2 separate regions of the Homo sapiens genome follow, and region 2 is linked to region 1. Evidence: promoter capture Hi-C in 16 types of primary human blood cells and fetal thymus (Javierre and others, 2016). All regions are on one chromosome and are shown on one strand. The core of a region is centred on a gene start or on the middle of the fragment in contact, and the rest is flanking DNA. Distances in the headings are between cores, read along the strand shown.

The links. Contacts are between HindIII fragments. The CHiCAGO score rates a contact against its expected background, and 5 or more counts as called.
Region 2: a fragment that was not itself captured here is called in contact with the fragment with the promoter of KLF15 in region 1 in 1 of 17 cell types (endothelial precursors); the score reaches 5.1 in endothelial precursors.

What each region holds. Positions count from the first base shown.
Region 1 is chr3:126,355,447-126,360,233 of GRCh38, forward strand. KLF15 (KLF transcription factor 15) reads right to left here and starts at 1,962. Exons shown (of 3, transcript NM_014079.4): 1 at 1,791-1,962. RefSeq lists enhancers at 504-1,263, 1,264-2,023 and a silencer at 1,922-2,141. The HindIII fragment of the contact is 4,432 bases long and covers 1-3,543 here.
Region 2 is chr3:126,251,359-126,256,145 of GRCh38, forward strand. No RefSeq gene overlaps it. Among named protein-coding and RNA genes, the nearest start is that of ALDH1L1, 73 kb to the left of the region's middle. The HindIII fragment of the contact is 1,038 bases long and covers 1,879-2,916 here.

The DNA of each region.
Region 1 (4,787 bases), core at 712-3,211:
CACTGCCCTGGCTCTTCCCCCAGCACTGCAGGTGGGAGCTGCTTAGTTAGATCTCGGCTCAGAAGTCACCCCTGTGGGGGCCTCCAGGCCCACTCTGTTACATCATCCTATATTATACTCTTCCCTGCAGTTTCTACTGTGGGAAACTATCTTGGTGATGTGTTTGTGAACTTTCCTCCCTGTCTACCTTCCCATCAGAATATCAGCTGTCCTGACTGTTCACTCCAAGGCCATATCCCAGAGTCTAAAACAGGACCGGGCAAAATTTGCTGAATGAGTGAATGGAAGGTGCGGGGGAGAGCGGGGGAGGTCGGAGAGTAGGAATGGGTGGCCCAGGTCAGCCAACAGGGTCTTAATGCTGGGCTGAACGTCCCAAGGGGGAAGCACCCAGGCACTGACAACCCAGAAAGGGCTCTGGGATGTCCCAGGGCACCGGCATTAAAGAGAGGACACTCTAGGGCTGGAGCTGGCTCGGCCCCTGAAACACAGCAGCACGTGGGGCGGCCAGAGGCGCAGGCTGCGTGCAGGGGGAGGGGACACGCTGTTCCGGGCACAGTCCCCGGCTGGCCGCCGGACTCCGCCCCCTCCCCTGGCCCGGCCAGGCCTGCTGTTTATCCTCCCGGGGACACAGCGGCTGCAGGAACAACATGTAATTGATAACAAGCCCAGCGCCGGCCAAGGGCTTGCCATTGGGTCAGCGTGCAAATCACGGGGGTGGCGGCGGGGGCTGTCCTTCAAAATAAGAGTCTCCGGTCCCTGAGCCGCCCGCAGGCCCCAAAGTCGCAGAGTCCGGGCGTCCTCACACCTGTAGGGCGGCAGGGTCTCCCCAGGGGCCACCTGGTCCGGGGGGACAGGGGGAAGGAGATTTGAGGCTCTCAAACAATTGTTGATTTTGTCACCTCCGAGGGCCGTGGGAGAAAACAGCCCCTCTGTGCCCTCCGTGAGAGGGGGGTTCCATGAGTAACACCAAGGCGGGGAGGGAAGAGTGAACCGGACCACCATATGGGATGGGGACGGCCTCTCTGCCCCGCCGCCGCCATCCCTCGGTCAGGCCATGGCTTTGGTAATGTTCGGTCTGAGCGGACGGGGACTCAGCGTGGAGTGAGACGCGTGAACGGTGCGGGTGTGCGTGAAGGGGTGTGAGTTCCTGTCGTGTGACTGCGTGTGCGGGGCGTGGTGCGCGGCAGCCGCTGTGGCTGTGCGGGAGGCTGTCCGCGAAGGACTCGCGCGTGGAGCCGCCGTGGGTGCCGGCGGGTGAGGGGAAACGTGCGTGGGAAATGAAGAGAGCCGGCTCAGACCCCTTCTAGAGTCCTGGACCGCTGCCCGCTGGGCACCATGCCCTCGTCCCACGCCCCCCCCTTGCCCCCGACACTGCTGCGGTGACCGACAGTAACCCCTCCGTCTCCAGCCCCTCCGCCCCCCAACCCCGGGCTGGCCAGCGCGTCCGCTCTCCCCCTCCTCTCACCAGGCCGCGCCGGTGCCCACCATATGGGAGGGCCGGCCCGCAAGGCGCGCCACGGAATCGCCCGGCCAGGCACCGAGGCGGCGGCGCGGGCCTCAGCAAAGTGCTGGTGGGCGACCGGGGCGGGGGGGGTCACCTCCCCCGGGCCAGTCCGACCCCTGCCCACCTCCGCGGGGGCCCATCCCGCTCCTCCGACATTCCTCCAGCACTCGCGCGGTGCCTCCGAGAGCTGCGCGGGAGCACGGCCACGCGCCCCGAGGCCGGCCAGCCCTCTGATCACCCGGGGCCGCGTCCACGCGGCCGGCCGGCCCCGCCGCGCCTCTCCCACCTGAACTTGGCGCACGCCGGACCGGCGGCCAGGCCCCGGCGGTCCTGCGGCCGGGCGGGCTGGGCTGGGGGCGGCGGCTAGACTCTCGGTCCGGCGGCGGCCGGGGGCCGAGCCGCGGGTCCTGCGCTGGCTCGATCGCCCGCCGGCCCGCGGGTCGCTGCGGCGGAGCACTAGCCCGCCCGCAGCTCGCTGGGCACTCACTCCCCGCCGCTCACGTGACGCAGCGGGCGCCGCGAAGGCTCGCAGGAGGCTCGGCCCCGGGCGCGCGCCCCATTGGCCCGCGCTGCGCGTCACACGTCCCGCCCCGCCCTGGCCCCGCCCTGGCCCCGCCCCGGCCCGCCCGCGCGGCTCCCGGACTTGAGCGGCGGATGCTCGGGGATCCCGGAGCTGCCAGACGCGCACGCCCCCCAACACGCTGCCTGGTCCCTGGCCCGCAGCCACCTCCTTGCTTCCCACCTCTCGCCGCTGTCTCGCGGCGTCCACGAGGGCCGGCTTCTAAAGCTCGGTTCCCAAGGTGAGAACGTGAGACTGGCCTGAAGACTTAAGAAAAGCTCTGAGATCGCCCCAAAGTGCAGTCTGCGTGATTGAGCGGGAAGCGCTGGGGAGCCTGTCTGGCCCGGTCTGGCCCACGTCCCCACCTTCATCCCCAGCGCGGTACAAGCAGCTCTGTCCCCCGCTGAGTGTCAGATAAATCACTTGCCTAGAAGGACGTATTTTTGGATAAATACGGTATTGGGCTTTCAGCAGGACAATCAGTTACCCTCCGGAAATTGCGCGCGCTCTGCGCTGCCACCCTGCCCTCCAGGACTAAGGAGGTTTGCTGACCGGCCCCCCCCCCCCCCACCTGAAACCAATGACACCTTGTCTCTGGGGCACCTTTCTGAAGACCAAACAATGCTTCGCAGTCTACAAAAGCGTTCGTAGACTGCTTTAGTCCGCAGCAATCCTGGCTCGCATTTGGGTTCCCGCTTAGAGACAGGAAGAGTAAGGCTCAGAGTGGCTTGCCCAAGAAAAACACGTGGGCTGACGGTGCTAGGCACCCTGCTGTGCCCTTTAATCCACACTCCAGCTGGATCCTCAGCCAAGCACTTTACAGATGAAGAAACCGACTCAGAGAGGGCACCAGCCCTCCCCAGCCCCACAGCTGGGAAGGAGCAGGTAGAGAGGTAGAGCCAGGTCATCTTGCAGACACCCCCAGGCCACCTGTGCAGAGCTGTCCTACTGAGCTTCCTTCCTCTCCCCTCCTGGCACTGGGAGGTGGGGAGCATTTTCTCCTGCTTCTTCTTGAAGACATTGCTAGAACAGGAATTTTTAACCATACCCTTTCCAGGCTCTCTGGAATGCTATAGGTCTAGGCTTGCTTGACCAGGGATCTGGGGACACTGTGCACCAGGTCAGTGCCAGGGATTCAGCTGCTGCTGCCACTAGGAGCCAAACCAATGCGTTGCCAGAGGGCTTTAAGGACATTTGTGTTGAGGATGGTGAGAGGCTTTCTAGTTCACAGAAGTTGGAATGACCACTCTGGCATTACAGCAGCCCTGGCTAGCCTGGGCAGAACAGTGGAATTTGTCCATTTTCATAAGAGAAGAGATAGAGGCCTGTATTCCTCATTTTGTCTCAGTGCAGGTCTGGATTGGGCATAGCCACAGCACTTCTCCATCTGCCCTGCCCGCCCTCGGTCTTCACTCCTCACATACTCTCAGTCTAGTGCCTCCCATCTCCTTGGTGAAAGCTGCAGCAAAAGGTCAGAAAAAGCTTGGAAGCAAAGACACATCGTTAGCACCTTCAGCACACAGGGAGGAGGCCCCACTGGCTAGAAACTGGAGAACAGCCAAGATGGTCCTGTTAAAACCTGAGTCAGATCAGGTCCCTTCTGGGTTCAGAAGCTTCCAGCAGCTCCCAACTCACTCAGAGTAAGTAAAGCCCAAGTTTTCACCACAATCTTTAATGCCCTACAGCTAGGTACAGCATTTACCCCAAACCATATCTAAGGAGAAAAGCTCCCTCAATATAGTGGGGAGAATCTATCATTGAGATTCCTTGGCAGAAAGGAGAGAACAAAGTCAGGTGGTGCTCTTCAAAACAGATGACCAAAAACAGTAAAGATTTATCTTCATAGCAGTGAAAATCTCTAAGTTTCTTTTCTTCCAAAGCAATTCCTTCCCTACTTCTACATAATCAAGTATAGAAAAGGGCCTTGGAAGGATATAAATTATATTGGTTAAATATTGTATGACCTTGCCTATAAAACCATTTGGGCCTGGTGCCTTTTTGGAGTGATCTTTCTCCATGCTTGAATTTCACACATTTTACCAGGATATGTCTGACTCTAGCCTCCTTCTGTTTTCATTGTTACTACTCTATGCTTGGTGTATCCTTTTAATCTGGAAACTCAAGTCTTTCTTCGTTCAGGGAAACGTTCTTCTATTGTCTCTTGTTTCCCCCTAAACAGCTGCATGGATTGCTCCATCGCATACTCAGGTCTCTGCTCAGATGCCACCTTATCCCAGACACCTTCCTCACCCATCCCGTCTAAAACAGCACATCTGCTGCCCTCAGTTTCCTGGCCTCTGTTTATTTTGCTTCATGATCCTGATCTTTATATTATTTATTGATTTGTTTCTTGCCTGTCTCTCCTATCAGGAGACAAGCTCCTTAAGAGCATGGACTTGTATTTTTTTATTCACTGCTGTATCCCCAGAACCTAGAACACTTCTGAAACATGTTGAGGAAATGAGATTTTCTTCTTGCCCCAGTAAAGCTGCCAATGGATATGGGATCTTTGGAGAAGCTCTTCAAGGTCTGGTGCTCTCTTCCACAGTACTGTAGCCACCAATCTTGTCCTCATCCCCTGTTCCACACACATACCTGAGACTTCCAGCCTCCCCACTAGCTCATGCCTGCCCGGGGGTCTGAGCCCAGCCTGCCCTCTTCCAGGAAGCATTTTGAGGGCCCCATTCAGTGGCTCAATGGTCTGTGCACAAAGGGCCCACTGTG
Region 2 (4,787 bases), core at 1,148-3,647, 100 kb before region 1:
CAAATCCCTGTATATCTGTGTATCGCCTACCTCAATAAAATTGTCAAAGTATTGTCATATTTATTCTCTATCTATCTATGCTTTACAATTTGGTTGTAAATTGCGGACATCATGGTGCTTTGCTCTTAAATACTTAAGTCTGCATCTTCTGAGAATAAAGATCAGCTCCTACAAGATACAATGTCATTGTCACATCCAATAAAATTAACAATAATTCCATATATCTACTATCCCATTCTTATTTAAATTTCTTCAGTTATCCTAAGAATGTCTTTTATAGCTTTTTCTTAAAGCAGGATCTAGTCTGTGTTCACACAAAGCATTTGGCTATTAGGCCTTTTGGTCTCTGTTAGTCTAGAATAGTTGCCTTGCTTTTCTTAAAAAAACAAAAAACAAAAAACAAGTTTTTAATGGCATTGACTTCTTTAAAAGTCCACATCAGTTTTCTTGTAAAATGTTTCACATTCTGACTTGACTGACCTTTCTTTAATGAGGTTATTTAACTTGTTCCTATATGCCCTCCCAACCTCCCCTTCTCTCGTAAACTGAAAATTAGGTGTTGGGGCTTAACTGAGTTCAGTGTAAAAGTTGCCGCACTATCAATAATGCTACTAAGTGTGGACACTCAAGATGGTGGCTAGTAGAGTTCCCCATTCAGAAAGTACAATATTCTCTTGTATATCTTGGTAAAGGATACCCAGGCAGGGCATTGGTAAATCAAGTTTAGCCTAAAGCCACTTCCTTACATATTTTAAGTTCAGCCTAAAGGTTTATCTGTACATGACAAATTATAACCTAAATGGAGGTGTAGATAGACTATAGTCCACTTTTGTGCCAATCACTGAGTTTTGGCCAACCAAAGAAGGCCAACTGTTCAGACAGTGTTCAAATAAGGCAAATGCCAAGCTATACCAGTCCCGCTGTTTCTGTACCTCATTTCCGTTTTCTATATATCATTTTCCTTTTTCTGTCCTTCAATCATCTTCTATCTCTTGGCTTCACTGGAGTCTCTGAGCCTACTTGGAAGGCTGCCTGATTCATGAATAATTCTTTGGTCAATTAAACTCTATAAAATTTAATTTGGCTAAGGTTTCCCTTTTAACAGATGATGTCAGAAGTGAGATCCAAAGTAGAGCTTTTGGTGACCTCCAGGAGCACCAAGTGGCCAAGCAAGGTTCCCGCCAGGCCCATTGTGTTCATTGTTCTCTGGCAGTGACTGGGGATCCTGGTAAGTTCTCTCCAGGATTCCAAAGCTCCATGGATTTGTGTTCTGAGCTCTTCAAGTTTCTTTGAGCTAATTTATGATCCAAACTGTGTTTGGAAGGCATGACAGAAACTGAACTGGATTCAGAATTGGATTGGATTCAATAATTAACTGGCTTGGATCTAGTTAGAGGTTTATAAGAGACCTCTAACTGGGTCAGAAAGAAACCAGTAGTAAAAGGCAATGCTGTAGGAGGTGTAAACTTTGGCTTTGGGAAATTGACAGGGATTTTTGTGTTCTACCTCCTTTGTTTCTTTCTTCTTGCATGCTTTGGGAACGAAAAATCACTGGCTAAGTTGATCAAGGGGGCCTGAGAGCCAAAGCCAATATTTGAGGTAAAAATGAGATCCTTAATTTCTGAAGAACTCAGTACCTTCTGGTTTATCGATGGGTAAGTATTAGGCCCTGGAAGCAACAAAGACTTACAGAAATTATGAAATTTTACTAAAGATAAGTTACAGTAGAATGATCCAAACGAACAACTCTGCACTTGAAGAAGTGCATTTGAAAATGAGGGCTTTCAAATTAGTCTCATCTAGGGATGCCTAGTGATATGCAGAAGTTCTAAAGAGACTTTAATATTTTAAAAGGCTTTTTATAAAAGGCAAATAAAAAGCTTAAGTGACTGATTGATAAGAAAAATTGAATCTGCTGACCTTTTAGTTTTGTCATCATCCTGCCCTAATAGCAGAAAGAAAGCTAGCCTAAAGCGTTTATAAAAGGAAAGGCTTCTTTTTCAGATCTCTCCCTGCTGAGTCCAGGCATAAAGGATGCTTTCTCTGCCCTATTCCTTAATGGAGTCCACTGTGAACCCAGTAATTTTAGCCAAGAAACAGTAGCTAAGTTAAACGGAACACCTATTTAACTAAAATACACCTTTCTGGAATATGATTGGCTAACCTGAAACCCTTTTGTAAAAGAAATGTACACCTATTAAGGAATCTCCATTTTTAAGGATGTCTGCCTATGTACATTGGAAATTTTACCACTGTTTTAAATTTACATAATAAATCGTACTTTTGTCTAAGGTGCTTTTCTGGCCATCTTGTCTTGACTGAACTTTTATGTGAGCACCATTTTTTTTCCTTGATTTGAGCAAATGATGACACAACTGGTTTGTAAAACTACTAACCCAAGCAGGACAAAAATTAATTGAATACCAAGAAAATACTTTGCCAGATTTTCATGTTAAATCAGCCAGTACTAAAATTGTTTGGATATACTATTTGAATAAACTCTATGGTCCAAGTCAAATTCCCTATGATAACCCATCAGTTATCAGTACTATGCACCTAAATAGGAGAAAAAATGGTATTTAAGAGGACATAAGTCCAGTGTTAAACGTGGACTCATGGAGAACCCAGATAGCCTCCTTGTCCTTCCTGAGTCCTTCAAACTTTCCATATTAAAAGCTCTGCATTCCATGAATCATCATGGAAGAGATAAAATGATCCAAATTAAATATATCTATATGGTGACTGTTCTAAATTGCTAAAATAGTTTATGACCAATGTTTAGTTTGTCAAATCCATATTCCTGGGAGGACAATCAAAACTTCAAGTACATTTTCACTACCTGACAGGCCATGTAAACATTTATAGAGGGATTTCATTTAATTGTCATTTTCAATGCACGTTTTCTGGTTGTATAAAAGCTTTCTCATGCAAGAGGGCTGTTGTTATAACAGCGGCTCATTATGCCTAAGTATATGTTCACAGGTAAAGAATATTTTTTATAGTCCACTGACTGAAGACAACCAACCCCTTCATAGCCTAGAGCTTGAAAGTTGGATCTTCTGAGAACATTAAAGAAAGACTGCCCTTGCCATATATACTGCAACAAAATTTGGTGACCTTGAACCTTGGGTTTGTAATCTCACAACTCAGAAAGGTCTCTCCACACTCTTGGAACTGTACACCCATTGGAAACCTTACGGTAAAGCTAACCAGGGATGTTTCTCCCCATAAGAAGACAGCATCCTTGACATGGACAGCTTTGTCCCACGATCAGGGATCAAGATTTCTCTGCTATCATGAGACTCTTATCTATCTATTTTTTCCTTCCTTATGCTTCTGTAAACAATAGAAGTGGAAAGGAGGTCTATTGTGTGCATTCATGGGGTATACTTTTATTTGCAAGGGATTTTGTGCCAGCTTTGTACATCAACAGCCTATGCCTCGATAGATGGATGACGAAGGCCCAACATAGGTGACAAATTTTAATGATACATTTGTTACCTCATAGTCAGAAACAGAACATTTGTCTACTCCTCTTAACCTACATCATGGGTTAAAGAGAACATTGCCAGGAAGTCTTCATTCTTCTAGATGGGTAACATTTGTTAGGTGCCTTTTTCCATGGTTTGAAGTAAATTAGGAAATTGTTAGAAATGTATCCCTCATGATAGGCTCTATAGCAGATTCTACTGTAAAGGCTATGGTTACACAGCAGACTTTAAATTCTCTTGTGAAAATTATGCTAAGTAATAAAACTGCTCTAGATTTCTTACCGGCCAAACAGAGAAGTATCTTTGTAGTTGCTGGCACTTCTTGTTGCCCGTGGAGGAATAAATCAGATATTATAGAGAGTCAGTTGTAGGGGATTAATGAACAGGCTGCTTGGTTAAAGCAAGCAGACTTTTTGTATAGCTCATTATTTGCTCTATTTGATTTTAGTTGGTTAGGTTCATGGGGACCCTGGCTAAGGAGCATACTCCAAACTCTTGGTGTTATCCTTCTGATGATCATAATAGTAGCCTCCCTGATGTGCTATATTCTTTCAAAAGTTTTAAATGTTTGCATGCAGCCATCTCTAGAATGTCAAATGGTCTCTCTTCAACTAGAATGACAAGAACTGAAAGAAATGTGTGACCATGAAGGCACTGTAACCTATGACATGCTAAGGCCAGAAGCCCCAAATCATGGTAACTGAGAGTGGTGCTAAGGTCCTAAGTTTTAATCATACTCTTACCTAAGTTAGAACCTGACCAAAAGGGAGTAATTTTTAATCAACATTATGAGAGACCATTGTTTTGGACTGAGCTCATGCACTAGACCCCAACAGACCAGACCAAACCAAAATGGAGACACTCATGCTAAATGTGATGGAATCAAACTAAGACTTTAAGGAAACAGATAGACCCTAGAACAGACCAGTTTTTGTCCCCCACCCCCCACTACCCTCCGCAAACAGGAGATTGCAGCATAAGAACATACCCTCTACTCTAACCTTTAAAAAATATAACCTGAGGTCCTTGTTCCCACCTCACAAAACCCACTGTTCTGCTACTTACCAGTGGGTATTGACACCAAGTAAGTACATTTATGATAGTGATAGTGACATCAATGAATAAAGTTTGAATAAAATCTCTTTTCTCTAAGTCACAGGTCGGGCCGCAGCACTCCCAACTCCTTAATTGTACATGGGCATAATGACACCAGATAAGAGAAAAACAATGATAAAAACCTCTCTAAGGTGCTCTGAAGGCCTAAGGGCCAATGCTTGGGGGCCTTCTCTAGTCTAA